Regions from separate parts of the Homo sapiens genome. Here region 1 is linked to region 2. Evidence: promoter capture Hi-C in 16 types of primary human blood cells and fetal thymus (Javierre and others, 2016). All regions are on one chromosome and are shown on one strand. The core of a region is centred on a gene start or on the middle of the fragment in contact, and the rest is flanking DNA. Distances in the headings are between cores, read along the strand shown.

Region 1 (3,884 bases), core at 588-3,087, 1.7 Mb after region 2:
GAACTGAAGGCTGACAAGTTCTGAGGATTACAGCTCTGCCCAGGCCCTTTCTACTTTCCCTGCCTGCCTCCCTCCCCCTGCTAGAAGTAGTTTCTGATTTCCCTGAATGAAAGATAGTGATCTTTTAGGCCTTCATTTATCTTCTAAAATTCCTCATCTCAAGGCCACCAGTCCCCAGTTATCACCCTTGGAAATCCTCTGTTTAGCTTAGTTGCACAAAAGGTAGTATGTCCAGTGGCTAGAGGTGGGGTGGGAAGAGAGGAGGCCAGGCCAGGCCCTCAGGAATTCCCTGGTTTCCACTGGGCCACCCACTTGCTGGACAGTCTGAGCCAAGTCCCTCCTGCTGGAGAAAAGCCTGGAACTGCCAAAACAAAAAAACAAATACAAACAAACCTCGTCACCACGGTCAGGAGGAGGTTCAGACATTCTGCCCAGAGGGGCTGGGGAAAGGGATGGGAGCCAGGAAAGATTTAGGGGCAGGAGACAGACACGTAACAGGAACTCGGAAGGTAGAACTTAGAATTCAGAACTTGGGTTTCAATTGTAGAATTTGGAATCTGGAATACAGAATTGGGAAGAAGAACAGAGATGACAAAAGACCACTTGAAGAGAGGTTCCTAATACTAGACAGATGGAGAGTGGCTTGGCTGTTTCCCCCTGCATATTGGGGTTGAAAACTTAAATGTGTAGTTCCAGTCCTTCTATGCAGAGTCTCTCCTGCCCTCCCTCCTTCCTGCAGGCAAATATACAAGCTAGACCCTGTTCCCTCACCCTGTATCCTGTCTCCCCTAATTGACATTCTATCAGCCCAACCCTCATTCTGCAGGGCCACCTGGTGTGTGGAGGTGGCGGGAGGGGTCAGTGACTCTGGGGGTCTCCTCAGTGACCCCCATACCTCATCATGAACCCTTGGGTAGCTTGATTCTGCCTACCATCCAGGAAAACTTGTGCTGGAATTGCTGATGGAAACAATTAAATATTTACTATAAATCAGTGTCTTTTCTTCATCTGCAAGGAACTTTAGCAGGTGCCTGAGGCAGGGCACAGTAGAGCTGGTGGGCTTAGTCCCACATGGCAGATCTACCCTCCTGGAGGGTACTGTGTTCTTGAGCTATTCTCAACAGTCAGTACTGGTTGGGTGCAGTGGCTCACGCCTGTAATCCCAGCATTTTGGAAGTCCGAGGTGGGCAGATCACTTGAGTGAGGTCAGGAGTTCAAGACCAGCCTGGGCAACATGGTGAAACCCTGTCTCTACTAAAAATACAAAAATTAGCTGGGCATGGTGGTGCATGCCTGTAATCCCAGCTACTTAGGAGGCTGAGGCAGGAGAATCCTTTAAACCCTGGAGTCGGAGTTTGCAGTGAGCGGGGATTGCGCCACTGCACTTCAGCCTGGGTGAGAGAGCAAAACTCTGTCTCAAATAAAAATAAAAATAAAAAAGAGCCAGTATTTTCCTCCTTGCTCCTGGGAAGGAGAAGGAACTGGCCCCGTACAACCAGGGATTCAGGACACGTGTTACTAGCTCCAGATGAGGATTTACACGAAAAAATCCTGGGCCTTGTTTGTACAGTTCATGCCAGGGGTAGGAAATACCTGAAGCTTTCAAATACTGCGTTAGAGTTGTGACTCTGTCCTGGGCAAGTCAGGCCTAAAATGGAGAAACTGGTGATGCACTCCTCAAAAAGCCAAGTGTAAAATGAGGTTAATGCCCTCCCTGACTTGTTGCCTTCACTGGCGTGGCATATTATGGTAAAAATAATAATTAAGAAGTAAGGTTATGCAGGCAAATCCTCTAGCGCCGAAATCTTCCCCGCCGCGCTACCAGGTTCTTTCGTGTTATCTTGGACATAACACAACATTAATTCAACTACTCGGTGGAGCGCCCACTAGCTGCTGGACACTCTCTTAGGCCCTGGGCACAGTGAACGAGAAGCATGTGTCTTTGTTTTTACAGTCTCACCACGCCACCACCTCCCTCGGGGGCCTCCGCGCTGAGCTTCCGGCCTCTACGCCTCGCTTCCGGTCGGCCGCCCCTTCCTTACTTCCGGTTCTCTATGGTGCGCGGGCAAGCTTTGCTCCGCCTCCGGCAGTGGCTTACTCCCGGTGCCAGGTTCTTGGAGCTGTGAGGTGAGGAGGGGACAAGGGCAGTGGGGCTGGGAGATGGGGCGGGGCTGGGCGCTCCGGGACTGAGGTGCTGATCGCCCAAAGGGCGCCCCTGGGCTGGGGTCTGACCCGGCTTCTCCTCCCTCACTACCCGCGGTCCCCGGCCTCTCGGCGCTGCGCTGTTACCTCATCCGAAAAGTGTTCGCTGCAGCATCCTCAGGCTTCACGTTGGAGCCTCTTGATTGTGGTAATGTAGCCTGATGGGGGTGGGGGTGGTGGTGATGGTAACAGCTCACATATATCGTGCTCTTCGGTGTGCCAGGCACTCTACTGTGTTGCCAAAGTCAGGATTTCCCACACTTAAGCCTTTCAGGTCCGGTCTTTGTAGGCTTTGCCAGATCAACTTACCACCTCTACTACCGTTTATTAAAAATTTGTTTGTTTGTTTGTTTTAGTATTTATTGATAATTCTTGGGTGTTTCTCGCAGAGGGGATTTGGCAGGGTCATAGGACAATAGTGGAGGGAAGGTCAGCAGATAAACAAGTGAACAAAGGTCTCTGGTTTTCCTAGGCAGAGGACCCTGCAGCCTTCCGCAGTGTTTGTGTCCCTGGGTACTTGAGATTAGGGAGTGGTGATGACTCTTAAGGAGCATGCTGCCTTCAAGCTTCTGTTTAACAAAGCACATCTTGCCCCGCCCTTAATCCATTTAACCCTGAGTGGACACAGCACATGTTTCAGAGAGCACGGGGTTGGGGGTAAGGCTATAGACCAACAGCATCCCAAGGCAGAAGAATTTCTCTCAGTACAGAACAAAATGGAGTCTCCCTTGTCCACCTCTCTCCACACAGACACAGCAACAATCCGATTTCTCTATCTTTTCCCCACATTTCCCCCCTCTCTACTAGACAAAACCGCCATCGTCATCATGGCCCGTTCTCAATGAGCTGTTGGGTACACCTCCCAGACGGGGTGGCGGCCAGGCAGAGGGGCTCCTCACCTCCCAGAAGGGGCGGCCGGGCAGAGGCGCCCCCCACCTCCCGGACGGGGTGGCGGCCAGGCGGAGGCGCCCCCCTACCCCCGACCCGACGGGGCGGCTGGCCGGGCTGGGGCTGGCCCCCACCTCCCCCCCGGACGGGGCGGCTGGCCGGGCGGGGGCTGCCCCCCACCTCCCGGACGGGGCGGCTGCTGGGTGGAGGGGCTCCTCACCTCTCAGACGGGGCAGCCGGGCAGAGACGCTCCTCACCTCCCAGACGGGGTCGCAGCCGGGCAGAGGTGCTCCTCACATCCCAGACGGGGCGGCGGGGCAGAGGTGCTCCCCACATCTGAGATGATGGGCGGCCGGGCAGAGACACTCCTCACTTCCTAGACGGGATGGGGTCCGGGAAGAGGTGCTCCTCACTTCCCAGACTGGGCAGCCGGGCAGAGGGGCTCCTCACATCCCAGATGATGGGCAGCCGGGCAGAGACGCTCCTCACTTCCCAGACGGGGTGGCGGCCGGGCAGAGGCTGCAATCTTGGCACTTTGGGAGGCCAAGGCAGGCGGCTGGGAGGTGGAGGTTGTAGCGAGCCGAGATCACGCCACTGCACTCCAGCCTGGGCACCATTGAGCACTGAGTGAACGAGACTCCGTCTGCAATCCTGGCACCTCGGGAGGCCGAGGCTGGCCGATCACTCGCGGTCAGGAGCTGGAGACCAGCCTGGCCAACACAGCGAAACCCCGTCTCCACCAAAAAATACGAAAACCAGTCAGGCGTGGCGGCGCGCGCCTGCAATTGCAGGCA
Region 2 (3,795 bases), core at 472-2,971:
GGTGAAACCCCATCTCTACTAAATATACCAAAAAAATTAGCCGGGCGTGGTGGCGGGCCCCTGTTGTCCCAGCTACTCGGGAGGCTGAGGTAGGAGAATCGCTTGAACCCGGGAGGCAGAGGTTGCAATGAGCCAAGATTGTGCCACTGCACCCCAGCCTGGGCGACAGAGCAAGACTCCATCTAAGAAAAAAAAAAAAAAGTTACTGGAAATCATTCGAGTTGAAGGACTCTGTAAGCTTAAAAAAAATCTTTTTTAAGAGACAAGGTTTTGTTTTTAAGAGATGAAGTCTCGCTATATTGCCCAAGCTGGTCTCAAACTCCTGGACTCAAGCGATCCTCCTGCCCTGCCCTCCCAAAGTGCTGGGATTACAGGCATGAGCCACCACGCCCAGCCTAAAAAAATTTGTTTTAGGCATTTCCACCCCTAGCTCTCTCCAGAAGTCTGTTATCACCAGTGAAGAGAAAATCCCATGCTCCCTTGCTGAGGAAGTGACCCACTGGTAGCCCAGTCCTTGCATTCAAGATGAAGGAAGTGACTGTCCACAGACGGAAAGCCAGGAAGCAGGGGGCAGATAGCCAGCCCCCCTCCACCTCAATACCCTCTTGCCGCCTCTCCAAAGCTTCTGGACGCTGACCCTGGTGGACCCAGAGGTGGGCCACCCACACAGGTGGCTGGGAAACATAGGAGACAGAAGGTTCCTACTGCTGGGGGAAAAGATGGGGAAGGCAGGAAGCTGCAGGGTGGTGTGTGAGGTGGCGGGGAGGTGACTGCAGGTGCAACTAACCCAACTCTGAAGCTACCCTTCACCCTTAGACAACTCTTCCTTCCAGGAGGTGTTTGGCCGAATCCCTCTAGTCTTTAGTCTAGAGAGGCCAAGGGAGCTTCCACAGGAGGACTCAGAACCCCAGGTGGCCTACTTTCGCCACCTGTAGCAGAGATCTTTGGGCCCCAAAAAGAATGGTCCGATCTCTCCTTACCCTTAGTCCTGTCCTAAACCTCAAGGGGCTCCATACTCCCTTATTTTCTGCAAAGAGCTCCCAGCCCCGGGGGACTCCCAGACACCAAGATGCCCGCGAGAAGCCTTGGGTCTTGGCAGGGAAGTCACATCCTCCATTTCCCTCAGAAAACCCAGAACCCGGGGTAACTCTCCTAATTGTCCTGAACCCTAGAGGATCCTGTACTCCTCAAATTCCACAGAGCTTCCACTATAAGAGAACCCCATGCTTTTCAACTTCCTTAAAAAGGGTTAATTTGGGGGTCTGCGGCCGCCAGGTCCCTCCAAAAAGCTGGATTCCTGGCAGACCCAGAATCTCTTCCTCCCCGGGACCTCAACTCGCGGGAAGCCTCCCAACCCGCCTGCCCCTCGGAGCCCTCTGTCTCCAGGATGCCCTGCCTCCCCATTCCCGGAGTCCCACCCTCCAAATGCCTGGGGAGCGCTGTGCCCACCCCGCCTCCCAGCTTTTCTGAGGAGCTCGGACCCACGAGGACCCAACCAGCCCGAAACCCCCGAGAGACAGCCGGTTTCCCTCAGGCGCCATGGAACCGGACTTCGGAGATAACAGCGGGACAGGGCGGAGCAGCCCTTCCTTACCCGCCAGCGCGGACATGGTCCCGGGAGCGCGGAAATGGGGAGGAGGAGGCGGGGGACACAGCAGCTCCCCTCAGTTCCCTACAACTCCCCTCAGCTCCTGCCGCCGCCGCCTCAGGCGCGGGAAGACCACAGCCCCAGGCGCGAACGGGATGCACCGCCTACGGCGCCCTGGGAGGACCAAACCACACCTGGCACAGGGGACTGCCCGCCGACGCCCCGCCCCGCCGCTCTCAGGCCTCGCTCCCGAGACGCGGCCCCGCCCCCTGGCTCTGGCTCGGGCTCTGCAGCGGCCCTGGCGCCCCCTAGTGCGAGCGGCGTCCCCTCGAGGTGCTCCCGCCGGTAAGGTTGATTCTGCGGGGGCCGGAAGTCTCAACACGGATGACAGTCCGCACCCATCTAGTCGCCCTCATTTACAGATAGGGAAAGTTAAGGATCAGAGGCTAAGTTCGACTACATTGAAATGGCTTCGCTCATTAGGAGGAGAGCCGGGATGGGAGCCCAGGCCTGCTAACTGCCAGTTCAGAGCTCTTTCCAGTAGTGTTTGGAATCAGGAATATTACAATGGAGGAGCCAGGTCTATCCCACAAACAGCTTTGAGGATGGACTTTTCTTAGAAGCTTCTAGCTCAGAGAAACCACTTCTCTGCGCCACTATGAGTAAGCTGACAGTAAATAATCTCTAAGTCAAAGACAGTTGGAGGCGACCAACCAGCATTCCAGGAGCAGATCCTCAGCCAGGCCAATTAGGTTTAGCGCAGGACGCTGGAGCTTGTGCGCCGCATTGGAAGACGAGCACTCCCCTGCAGGAACATGGGCCTACCATTCCCAGGTCTTCCAACCTTTCAAAACATGCCAAAAATCCAGATATTTAGGTGAAATTTGCCACTTTTAAAAAATGTTGATAGCATCAAAAAGTTCTTAAAATGCCATGTAGACCAAATGAAACACACCTGGCCACTAGATTTGCCCTGTGGGCTGCCAGTTTACAATCTTCTATGAGGAGGAGGGATTACAGGACTAAGAGTTAGGACAGCTGACTGGGTTATGGCAGCTGCTAGCTGGCTGAGTAGCTTTGAGAACCACTTCCGCTCATTAGGTTTGGAAGGAGATTGGGGTCCTCTGTGTGATTAAGATATTAATACATCATCAGCCAGGCCAGCTGGTCCCTGATGACCCACCCTCCCATCAGATTCTCTCACGCTGGGTCTTTCACAATTGTCATTTCCTTACATCAGATTTAGATCACAGGAAACATGTCCAAATGACCAGAAAGAGGATGGAGCCCAGGGAAATGGATTCTGTCCCCTCCACCCCCACCCCTGACCAAAGACAAAGTTCAACCCAGCTGCCTCTGGTCCCAGCAGTTGGGTAAGCAAAGGCAAAGGCAAAGACAAAGGCGAGCACAATTCTCTTCCTTCCTGCTCTAATTCAAACCGGATGCCGGTCAGATTTTTCTCTTCTGGGTGTGGCAGGTGGCTCACGATGTCCTGAGTGTGCACAAAGTGCTGGGGAGGAGGGCTCTGTCCCATTTCCGTTAATTCCTGGGAACTCTTTTCAGTACTCAGTTTTGTAGTTTCTGAGGAAATCATTATAGTAAACACAAGATTGTGTATTGAATTAAAGTGACAGGAATCCAGAGACTCTCCTGACAAGCTGCCTCATGGCTAGCAAACAGGGGACAGGGACTTTCCCCATCCTTCCTACAGAAAGATGTAACACTGTATTTTCCCAGGCAACAAAGCACTGGCATCCTGGGAACCAAAACCTCCTGGGTGTCTTCCCTCTCCCTCCGTTCCACACCAAGGCACCCAGGTCTATCTCTTCTCCCTCCTCATTCTCTCTCACATTCCACTTCCTCCTACCTCCAGCCTCATGGTCTTCACCAGCAGGGAGCTGGGGAATAGCCAAGTCCCCCAAGTTCCTCCCAGGGAAGTTCAGGCGACTCTGAGAAACACAAGTTGAAAATGTAATGGAAGGGAATAGCTTTCTATAGAAATGCTATAGCCAAGAGATATATTTTTAATATGGACCCAAAGAACATTCCAGAAATCACTTGTGAACTCAAGGGGGACTTCTGGAGGGTAGAGAAAGCCTGGGCAGGGAGTAGACCAACTGAGTTTCAATAGCACCCAGGTTACCTGTCCACAGTTTGTTTCACTGGCCATAGCTTGGTCAGTCCCTAGGGCCAGATCCTGCCAGCCG

Evidence for each region. The method cuts DNA at HindIII sites, captures the fragments that hold promoters and counts their contacts. A CHiCAGO score of 5 or more calls a contact.
Region 1: a fragment that was not itself captured here is called in contact with the fragment with the promoter of LIMK2 in region 2 in 1 of 17 cell types (fetal thymus); the score reaches 5.6 in fetal thymus.

The regions. Positions count from the first base shown.
Region 1 is chr22:29,551,914-29,555,797 of GRCh38, reverse strand. THOC5 (THO complex subunit 5) reads left to right here and starts at 2,041. Exons shown (of 20, transcript NM_003678.5): 1 at 2,041-2,127. NIPSNAP1 (nipsnap homolog 1) reads left to right here. Exons shown (of 10, transcript NM_003634.4): 10 at 1-990. RefSeq lists enhancers at 1,671-1,740, 1,124-1,821, 3,219-3,884 and a silencer at 2,141-2,330. The HindIII fragment of the contact is 471 bases long and covers 1,602-2,072 here.
Region 2 is chr22:31,210,224-31,214,018 of GRCh38, reverse strand. It overlaps LIMK2 (LIM domain kinase 2), which reads right to left and starts at 1,721. Exons shown (of 16, transcript NM_005569.4): 1 at 1,595-1,721. The coding sequence starts at 1,610. RefSeq lists enhancers at 113-1,038, 2,001-2,180 and a silencer at 1,621-2,020. The HindIII fragment of the contact is 1,589 bases long and covers 625-2,213 here.